Linked DNA regions of Homo sapiens: region 2 is linked to region 1. Evidence: promoter capture Hi-C in human tissues and cell types (Jung and others, 2019). All regions are on one chromosome and are shown on one strand. The core of a region is centred on a gene start or on the middle of the fragment in contact, and the rest is flanking DNA. Distances in the headings are between cores, read along the strand shown. Region 1 holds the start of AGBL4 (AGBL carboxypeptidase 4). Region 2 overlaps FAF1 (Fas associated factor 1).

Region 1 (5,508 bases), core at 235-2,734:
GAGGAGCTACTCAATAAAACAGAGGTGCCATGAAAGAAAGAGAAATAATGAAGGCCTTGAGACATAATGGTTCCTCGAACTTATTTCTGAGGGTGTCATAGTTTTCAGTTCCAGTTTCTGGGGTGTGGTGTGTATGTACCATAACCACACACACACACACACACACACACACACACACACACACACACACACCAGGACCAAAGTAATTCAAGTGGATCACTCTTGTAATGATAATACCTGATCAGGACATATATACAAGGTTATGTATACCACTGCCAACACCCATCACACACATATTCCCAAAGCCACTTCTTTTCTACCCACACACCCATGCCATCCCGTAACATCCAGTTCTTCAGTGGTCAGCCTCATTTAGAGGCAAACTCCCTCCCACATACTCAAAACTGTAAAAACCTTTGCTTTCTTCTATGACCCTGTGAGAAACTTAAAGTCAGTATCTCACAAATCCCAGCCATATGCACAAGGGGTCCCCTCAGGAATAGGATCCTGGGTCTCCCTTCCTGTCAGTCTTCCTGTCCCTTAAAGGCTATCTTCTACCCACAGAAGTGTGGACATGCACTCCTTTGATTCTGAATGACCTTCAAGATCATTGAACCCACACACACTCACACTCACGCTCCAGCCTCCTTTGGTAGGCTCCTAAAGGACTGGGGCTCCGGGTATCCCCTCAAGGCCTCTTGTCTTTTTAAGGACCCATACAAGAATTATTTGCATAAATTTCTCTGTGACCAGGAGTGACCCTGAGGACACTGCACATCCCCAAACACAAATACTCTAACTCCCCCTTCCATGGCACTGTCTGATATTAAAGTAACACACCTTCCACGTATACCTCCCTCTTTAGAGTCAGAGCCTCCTACTCCCACCCCGAGCCCAAATCATGCCCCTTTAGGGATCTCTCCCATGCTCCCACAGGGCAGTGTACACCCTTTCCATGACACAGCCTAGCCCTAGGATTAGCCTTCACCACAGGTGATCCCAGGATTAAGATCCTGTCTCTTCCCTCAGGTCCCAGCCCCTTTCGGGCCCATGTTCTGTCAGAAGTGTGCACACTAACCCACACTCCCCTCCACCACCCGGACTTCGAGGTCCCTGCCCGCCATTCAGAGGGGTGCACGCCACCCTTGACCCCTGACCCTGAAGTCATAACCCACCGCGCAAATATACAGGACCGCCTCCTCAGGAGTAGGACCATGCCCGAGTCCCCTGTTGCCTGAGACCCAGGACAGCCTGGCCGCCTCAGCCTTCCCCAGATCGGCCGCCCCCACAGACCTGCCTCAGGCGCCGACTGGCTCCCCTCCGCCATTTTTGTTGTCCCTCAGTCTCCGAGCTCACGCGAAGACCGCGGGGCAGTAGGGAGCGGGTGGTGGGATCAGTGGGCTGACAGGAGCTACCTCAGGAAGACGCGGCACGACGGTTGCCTGGGCAACGGGCGGCAGGCGCGCGGGTGGCCGGCGCGCGGCTGAGGGCGGGAGGGACGCCTGGGAGGAGCGTGCGTCCAAGGCCCCGCCCCCGCGGCGCGAGCCCGGGCCTGAGCTGGGACTTGGGCCCCGGGGCGCTGCTCCTCCGCAACCGATCCACCGCATCCTGGCAACTGAGCAGGCTCCGCCACCCCTAGAGCACAGGGGCCAGGTCTGTAGGGATGGCGCTTTCCTGACGGCGACCGGGGTCCTCGTACTGACCGCCCAGACTAGCTAAACTGGCTTTTCTGTGGTTGGTGCTCAACTTTGGGGACTTGGGACAGGTTTCTTGATTTCCCAAAGCTTCTCCCCTTGGTTTGCCTGGGTTACTCGTCTTCAACTGAAATGCACTGAAAACCAACTGTGTGCCCACCCCAACCCAAACACACAGAGGCCCAAAGGGTTCTGGCTCCTTGCCCCTCTGCGACAGCAACCCTCAACCCCAGAAAAGACTTATCCTTTTGCTGACGTATTTTTCAGTAAATATGGGCTGCTGTTTCCCACCTTTCAGTAGTGACACGCCGTTATCGTCTAAAACCAAGCTGGAACATTACCCGTCCTGACCAGCTCTGCCCTCCCGCAGTCCCCTGTATATTCCCTCTATTCCAAATGCTTTATGCATTATTTCCTTCTCGACCATGAGCTCTCTGATACCTACGGTTGTTCTCTTATCTTTGTATACTCCATAGTGCAGCGTGGTGCATGACACAAAGTAGGATCTCAGTCAATGTCTGCTGAATGGAAAATGGTGGTAATCTGAAAGGAAATGAGGTGGAGAGAGTGAAAGAGGGAAGGGGGAAAAACGCTAAGAAAAATGTGTTATTGAGCTGATTGCTTTAGTAGACAACTATTTTTAATCTTGCTTCAGACTCTGAAAAACAGGGTAGAATGTGTGCCTGCCGTTGTCCCACTGAAGAACACAGAGTCTGGGGCATTTGTCTCCTAATTTCTGTCTCCATTGGTTGAGGGTTGCTCTCCACCTTCCAGCTTGAACTCTCTCACATTTCCTGGTTATGCTTGCCAGGGCTGAGCAGACTTCTAGAGTTTGAGAGAAAGCCTTGAGGCAGAAATGCAGAGACGGACCGGAAGGCCTTCTAAGTAAGATGCTGGCCACATGCATGGAACTGTCCATTCATCTGCATTAAAATCAGGGATAAGAATCTTGTACAGAAAGTTACATGAAAATAGCTATCAGAATTATCTCTCACATTTGAACAGTTTAAAATTCACAAGCCATGTCCACACAACTATCAAGATGAATATATATGTGCTTTCCACAGTCCTAATGACACTTATGTAAAGGCTGTGAGGGTTTTGGGAATTTCGGTGTCGGAGGAGTCAATAAGGGCTAAGAAGAACAAAAGAACTACATTAAGTATAGGGAGATGGAAAAATAAAGAGAAAGATGTGGGTTCTACTCAGACTGATGTTATAGCTTTATAATCTTGGGCAAATCACTTAAACTTACTGAGCCTCAGTTTCCTCTTCCAACAAACTGAGACAAAGGTCCTGCCTACCACAAAGAGTAGCTCTAAGACACAAATAGGGTGATGAATGAAAATGCATTTGATGAGTATGAGCCAGGCTCTGTGCAGATGCTGAGGATAAAGAGACAAATATAACATTATTAAATTGAACCACATTGGTCAATTTAAATTTTAAGTAAAATTTAGAACTCAGTTATTTAATCAGAATTGCCACTTTTCAAGTGCTCAATAGCTACATGTGGCTACTGGCTACCATATTGGACAACATATGTATAGAACATTTCCATCACTGCAGAAAGTTTTGTTAGTCAGAATTGATAGACAAATGCCTTACTGGGCAGAGGAGACGAAAAGCCTGGAAAACCAGCTTGCTGACAGGACCAGGTTCGGTTCTCCTCTGTGTCAGCTATTCCTCAGGAAGCAGTGCAGGAGGGAGTATAGACTTCTTCACTACTGCTGGAGTCTTCAGAGACTTCCCTTTTGTTGTGTGAAAAATAACACAGCATGGGAAGTGGGGGGAAAACGTCCCCTACATGGGCTCCTGGGAATTAGTTTCCCCGTGCTACCATTCATATGTCCCTGGGAGGTCTGTCTTCCCCAGAGACCTCCTATGATTTCTGTCTCCACAGAAAACACCCACCCACAACAAGGGTGCCTTCTTTCAAGCAAAATATACCCTGTAGGATTCACCCACTCCCTCCATAAACATTCATTAAAATGATACCTTCCATGTGCCTGGCCACTAAGTTAGATGCAGAATGGAATGAGAGAAATATTTAATTTATAATCATATTTTTACGAGCACAAACTCATTTCATTCTCAGAGCAGCATTATGATATTTGTATTAATATCAGCCTCTTGTACAGAAGATGAAATTGAGGCTCACAGAGTTTAAGTGACTTATACAAAGTTTCAGGCAGAAAGTAGCAGACTCAGGGAAGACTGAAATTATGCTAGGAAATTCATCTGTGTTATCTCATGTAATTTTCACATCAAAAATACCATGCCTTTGAAGTTTACAAACTAATTGGAAAGAAAGGATTAACATGCACAAATTCAGTTTACAATTAATTTCCAAACAATGTGGTAAGAGCAATGACACAGGCATGCTCAGCAAAGTGGAGGAGCACTAAAGAGAGATCCCCTTGATGGGCATCTATAGCCACAGCCCACCAGAAGTATTCAAAATAGCCAATCCTAAATGTTTACTCTGCTCTACCTTGCGATTCTCACAGAAATCCCAATAAAGGCTTTGGCCTAGGATTTCCCCTTGCTCCTGTGTTCTGACACCAAACCAAAACCTGGTGTTTCCCCTGTGACCCTTCATGGCATAAACTTCTTTCCAAGCCTTGTTCTCATTTACTCCTGTGGCCACACCCACTTAATCATACCATATCCAACATTTATATTCTTAGGACATACTTGTTATTCTGCTCTTTAATAAACAGGCTATTGTTGTTTACTCTTTCCATGTAAAATTTTAAATCAGCTTGCCTAATTGCAAAAAAAAAAAAAAGAAAAAAAGAAAAAAGTAATAATGTTGCTGGTATTTTATTAGAATTGTGATAAATTTATAGATTAATTTAGGGAGAAATGACATCTTTATGATACTGAGTCCTTTTATCCAAGTACATGATATATCTTATAATCTGTTTAAGTCTTCTATGTCCTTCAGAAATATTTAACAAATAGTTTTTTTTTTTTTTTTGGAGACATAGTTTCTGTCACTGAGGCTGGAGTGCAGTGGCGCAATCTTGGCTCACTGCAACCTCTGCTTCACCGGTTCAAGTGATTCTCCTGCCTCAGCCTCCTGAGTAGCTGGGACTACAAGCACAGACCACCATGCCACCATGTATTTTGTTTTAGTAGAATCTGGATTTTACCATGTTGGCCAGCTAGTCTCAAACTTCTGACCTCAAGTGATTCGGCCTTCCAAAGTGCTGGGATATGTGTGAGCCACCACACCTGGCCAAAACATTATAATGAGATATTTTATATACATTTTCATACTATGTCTTTAAAATCAGGTTTGTGTTTTACACCCACAGCATGTTTCAATCTGAATTAGCCACCTTTCAAGTGCTCAGAAGACACATATGGCCGGCAGCTACCATACTGGAAAGCACAGGTCTAAACACTCTAATTAAAAGGCAGAGATTGACAGAGTGAATTGGGGGAAAAAATAAGCGAGACCTAATTCTATGCTGTATACAAGAAATTTACTATAAATATAAAGATATATATGGGTTAAAGTAAACAGAAGGAAAAACAGACTTTACAAACACTTATCCAAAGAAGGCTGGATTAATATCAAAGTAGACTTCAGAACAGAATATATTGCTAAAATAGTTAAAGAGGACATTACATAATTATAGAGGTCTTCTCAGCAAGAAGATGTATAACATCATTCTTAATAATGAATTACTGAATGCTTATGGTGTAAGGCCTAAAAATAACACTATATGCTGCCTTCACATCTAGTAAAAACAGGAGGGCCTGGAATTACCTAACCACAAGTTCTCCTCCCCATTCTCCTCAC
Region 2 (5,604 bases), core at 253-2,752, 580 kb after region 1:
GGTTAAGGCTGCAGTGAGCTGTGATCATGCCACTGTACTCCAGCTTGGGTGACAGAGTGAGACCCTGTCTCCAAAAAAAGAAAAACCAATTAGCTGGGCATGGTGGAACACACCCATAGTCCAGCTACTAGGGAGGCTGAGATGGGAGGATTGCTTGAGCCCAGGAGGTCAAGGCTGCAGAGAACTGAGATCATGCCACTGCATTCTAGCCTGGGTGATAAAGCAAGAACCTGTCTTTAAAAAAAAAAAAAAAAAAAAAAAGGCTAAGTTTTCTGTTCTGTAAAATTAACATGACCTTTCCTAACAGGCTTTCTGTGAGGATGGCTTAAATGAGAATACACTTGCTACATAGTAGATATTCTATCAGTGAGTGAATACTCAAAGTCCATTTGAAGTTTTTTCTTTTCTTCTTACAAACAGTATTTAGTGTTAAGAACATACTGTGCTGGGCGCAATGGCTCATGTGCTGGGCGCGGTGGCTCACGCCTGTAATCTCAGCACTTTGGGAGGCTGAGGCGAGTGGATCACCTGAGGTCAAGAATTCGAGACCAGCCTGACCAACATGGTGAAATCCCATTTCTACTAAATACAAAAAATTAGCCGGGCATGGTGGTTCATGCTTGTAATCCCAGCTACTTGGGAGGCTGAGGCAGGAGAATTGCTTGAACCTGGGAAGTGGAGGTTGCAGTAAGCTGAGATTGTGCCATTGCACTCCAACCTGGACAACAAGAGTGAAACTCCGTCTCAAAAAAAAAAGAACATACTATGTGATTCTCAAAGTATGTACTACAGGCACAGGGTTCTTGAGATTCTTTCAGTAGTTCCATAAGGTCAAAATTATTTCATAATAATACTTAAATGGCATTAGACTTTTTCACTGTGTTGTATTTATTTATTTATTTTCTTGAGAGGGAACCTCGCTCTGTCACCCAGGCTGGAGTGCAGTGGTACGATCTCAGCTCACTGCAACCTCCACCTCCCAGGTTCGAGTGATTCTCCTGCTTCAGCCTCCGAAGCAGCTGGGATTACAGGTGTGTGCCACCATGCCTGGCTAATTTTTGTATCTTTGTAGAGACGGGGTTTTAACACGTTGGCCAGGCTGGTCTTGAACTCCTGACCTCAGGTGATCTGCCCACCTCAGCCTCCCAAAGTGCTGGGATTACAGGCCTAAGCCACCACACCTGGCCACAGTGTTTTTATACTGATGTTAAAAAAAGCAATGGTAGGCAAATCTGCTGGTACTTCAGCACAAATTAAGGTAGTAACACCAAGCTGTTAAAAATCTCCAGTTCCATTTACTCACTGTAAAAATGGCAGTTTCATTTAATAATGTCCCTGTTAAATCAGTAAAAATTATTAAGTAATTTAATTTATTTATTAAGTAAATTTTGACTCTTAATACATGTCTTTTAATATTCTATGTGACAAATGGGAAGTATGTATAAAGGACTTCTACAGCATACCAAAGTATAATGGATGGGTTGAAGAAAAAGCATGTGTGTTTCAGTTATATGCTGAATCAGCCACTTTTTTTCAGAAACACCATTACTACTTAAACAAATGATGGGCAGACAAACTGTGGTTATTTGGATTTGGTATTTAGACAAGTATCCCTTATTTAAAATGCTTGGGACCAGAGGTGTTTCAGACTTAGAACTGTTTTGGGTTTTGGAATATTGGCATCATATATACCTAACAGTTGAGCATCTCAAATCTAAAAATCCAAAATCTGAAATGCTCCAATGAGCATTTCCTTTTAACATCATGTTGCTGCTTAAAAAGTTTCAGATTTTCAGATTACGGATACTCAACCTGTGATTGAGTATCCCTAATTGCTGAACATTTTCTCCAAAATGAATGAAGTGAGACTACTACTTCAAGGAACAGGTCTGACAGTATTAATTGCCAATGACAAAATTTGAGTTTTCATGTAAAAATTAAGAGTTTTAAAAACTATCAGCCATCATGAGCTTGACAGCTTCTCAATGCTTAAAGCCTTTGTGATGCGTTCAGTGGTTATATTAATATAATAGATGTGACTTTTTATATCATGTAATGAAATGTGTCAACATTTAGAAAATCTGCATAACTCACAAGACCAATATTCTCCAAATGAACAGTGATTGCATGATGTTATAAAATTATGTATGGATAAAGGTTTAATTCAAACTGTGAGGCAGACCAATGTATCTTACTGTGACAAAGTATTAATACAAAATGTATAGTGGTAGGGCTTCAGATTCTACATTGAAAGTAACATTTAGCTTTACCCGAGAAAGCTCCTTGCCACATATACACACACAAAAAAATTAAAATAAAAAAAATAAGACTAACCTTTAGGAAACTACCACTTCTCAAGTTCTAGTTTAGTATCAAAGAATAATATCTATAATTATTTGAAAAGACTATTAAAATACTCCTCCCTTTTCCAACTATAGATCTGTAGGAGGTCAGATTTTCTTCATATTTTCAATCAAAAAAATTCATTACAACAGGTTAAATGCAGAAGAAGGAAGACACGAAAATCCAGTTGTCTTCTATTAAGACAGACATTAAAGAGATTTGTAAAAGTATAAAAACAGTGTCACTTTACTTACTGAATTTTTAGAAAATATAATTACTTTGTATAAAAATGCTATTTATATTAACATGTAATTCACTTGTTATCTTAAATATTATTTTCTTCAATATTAATTTTTAGAATGGTAAATGTCAATGAATATAATCCACATAAACAAAAGCTCTCTGGGGTCTTTGATGATTTCTTTACAAGTGCAAAAGGATCCTGAGACCAAAAAGCTGTGAACTGCTGAACTATGTAATGTGTACATATGCAACTAATTTTCATGAATAATGACAACTATTACTTGAAACAACTGAGAAGACAAAAAAGCTCTTTCAAAATCTTAGAATCTTTTCGATGTTTCTTCTTTACACAATAAACAAAGCATATAGTATTTTCTTTGTATTATTCTTTATGTTATTCTTCACATGAAAATAAAATACTAGGACAATATGCAAAGGAAAACTCCAGTAAACCATCATGACTGATCTCTGGCTATGTCTAACAAGTTGTTAGTAAAACACAGTATTATCATGTTAAGCTTGGTCCTCAGAGCATTTAAGGCCATTCTTAATACTTCTTTCTTTAAAAATATGAATTAGTAGGCTGGGCGTGGTGGCTCGGTGTGAGACACCTGTAATTCCAGCACTTTGGGAGGCCAAGGAGGGCAGATCACTTGAGGCCAGCAGTTCGAGACCAGCCTGACCAACGTGGTGAAACCCCGTCTCTACTAAAAATACAAAAACTAGCTCGGCATGGTGGCGGGAGCCTGTACTCTCAGGCACTCGGGAGGCTGAGGCAGGAGAACTGTTTGAACCCGGGAGGCAGAGGTTGCAGTGAGCTGAGATTGAGCCGCTGCACTCCAGCCTGGGTGAGACTCAGTCTCAAACAATACATATATATTCATATATATATATATACACACACACACTATATATATTCATATACACACATATATTCATATATACACATATATATTCATATGTATACATATATTCATATATACATATATTCATATACATATGAATTAGTTCTTCAAAGTATTTTTTATTTTATAGCCAAATTTTAACCCTCCCCAAATACATGCTTGCAGTCTGTCTTTTTTTCTAATTATAAATGACAAAGAATAAGACATTTTAAGAGTATTGGAAGCTATAAAACCTGTTATGGGACCTTGGGTCAGTAACCAAGAGTCTTAACATCTCCTTTTGTAAAATATAGGTACGACCAACTAAATGGCCTCTCAGATCCCTTCTAGCCCTAATGGGCTATGATCTTCATACATCACTAAGGAGATTTGGTTATGTCACCTGCAGACTCCTTGCTCTGCATGTGACACACCCAGTAACACAAGTGAACGAGATTCAAACTACAGCTTTACTGTTTTTATCTTTTATTCACTCAGTTTGTAAAATACAATTCTCTTGTGTTTTAAGAAGAACAATTAATATGAGACATTTTTTAAAAACCATATCTCAAGCTTGTCATCGTCCTCACAAGACACTGATGTAATTTCATCCAGATTTGGGAATGCTACCGGATATTAGCACTGACTACACTGCACTGATGATCTTTTTAATCTGTGTATTTGTATGTCAAGATGTATCCAACTGTACACTTAAAAAATGTATGGTTTATTACAGGTCAATTATACTTCAATAAGGCAGTATTCAGTGCTATTAATATATGCATTTATATCCTCATATAAAGTATTGCTTTTTTTTTTTTTTTTTGAGACAGAGTCTCACTCTGCCACCCAGGCTGGAGTGCAGTGGTGTGATCTCAGCTCACTGCAACCTCCGTCTCCCAGGTTCAAACGATTCTCCTGCCTCAGCCTCCTGAGTACCTGGGACTACAGGTGCATGCCACCAAGTCCGGCTAATTTTTGTATTTTTGTAGAGATGGGGTTTCATCATGTTGCCCAGGCTGATCTTGAACTCCTCACCTCAAGTGATCTGCCCGCCTCGGCTTCCCAAAATGCTGGGATTACAGATAGGAGCCACCTCACCCAGCCTAAAGTATTGCTTTTTGACATATATATACATACACCCATGAAACCATTCCGTATTTTAAAAAGCAGTTGTATAATAACTGCTACTATTAAGAGCTCAGTATGTATTGTTATTACACAAAGTGCTTTACACGCACTACCCCACTTAATTCTCACAATAACTCTGCCAGGTAAGGATTATAATCCCCACTTTAGAGATGAGGTTACTAAATCTCACACAGAATAAGAAGGTTGCCCAAAGTCAAACAGGTACTGACTGGTGAACCAAAATTAAAACTCAGGCACTTTATCTCACAACCATTTAAAAAGTATCCAATCGAACAACTATTAAGGCTCTAAGATATCTTGTCTTACTATCTGATAACCAGTAATTACTTTCTTTGGCTTAATTAAAACAGCTACTCCTAGATACCATCCATTAGTCAGAAACTACATAGTAAGTGCTTAACATATGTCTACCATACATGACAACTCTGTAAATTAAAGACTATCGTGATTGTACAAATCATAAAACAACCTTAGAGTAGTGGAGTAACCTGTCCAAGATAAATCAGGTACCAGATGGCAAACCAGATTTAACTCCAAAAGCCATGGAGTTTTCTATTACATCACATTTCCAACGTAGATAAGGTTTTTTATAGTAAGGAGTCCTGAAGATGACTTCTAGAATACCCCTTTTAAATTTTCAGATGCTTACTGTTCAGCTAAATAGATTACTGAGGTAGTTTTAAACCGAACTGAGTCATGAGGCTAAAATTTCATTTACTGCCAACCAAAGCGCAACTCTAAAAAGCTTATTTTTATTCACAATCCGAGGTTTCTTCTGCCCTTCCCCCAGCCATTTTTTTTGTCACTTATGTGCTAGAAAAGTCACACAGAGCTTTAATTTGTGGCAGGTTGAAGCAAGCTTATCAAGAATGCTAGTTACCAAGTGTACATGCACTTGTCTGGACTAGCCCACTGCCACATTCTTGTAGCAGGGTTAAACAGCAGTTTAGTCACCTCATAAAAAAGCACACTGTTAAAAAGG

The links. The method cuts DNA at HindIII sites, captures the fragments that hold promoters and counts their contacts. A contact is called where the count stands out against the background at its distance.
Region 2: a fragment that was not itself captured here is called in contact with the fragment with the promoter of AGBL4 in region 1 in 1 of the 25 tissues and cell types used here (H1 embryonic stem cells).

What each region holds. Positions count from the first base shown.
Region 1 is chr1:50,022,470-50,027,977 of GRCh38, forward strand. It overlaps AGBL4 (AGBL carboxypeptidase 4), which reads right to left and starts at 1,485. Exons shown (of 14, transcript NM_032785.4): 1 at 1,294-1,485. The coding sequence starts at 1,327. It overlaps LOC105378708 (a long non-coding RNA gene), which reads left to right and starts at 1,552. Exons shown (of 3, transcript XR_947311.3): 1 at 1,552-1,653. The HindIII fragment of the contact is 7,609 bases long and covers 1-5,301 here.
Region 2 is chr1:50,598,225-50,603,828 of GRCh38, forward strand. All of the region lies in intron 8 of FAF1 (Fas associated factor 1), which reads right to left. Among named protein-coding and RNA genes, the nearest start is that of FAF1-AS1, 160 kb to the left of the region's middle. RefSeq lists an enhancer at 5,122-5,604. The HindIII fragment of the contact is 4,142 bases long and covers 1-3,573 here.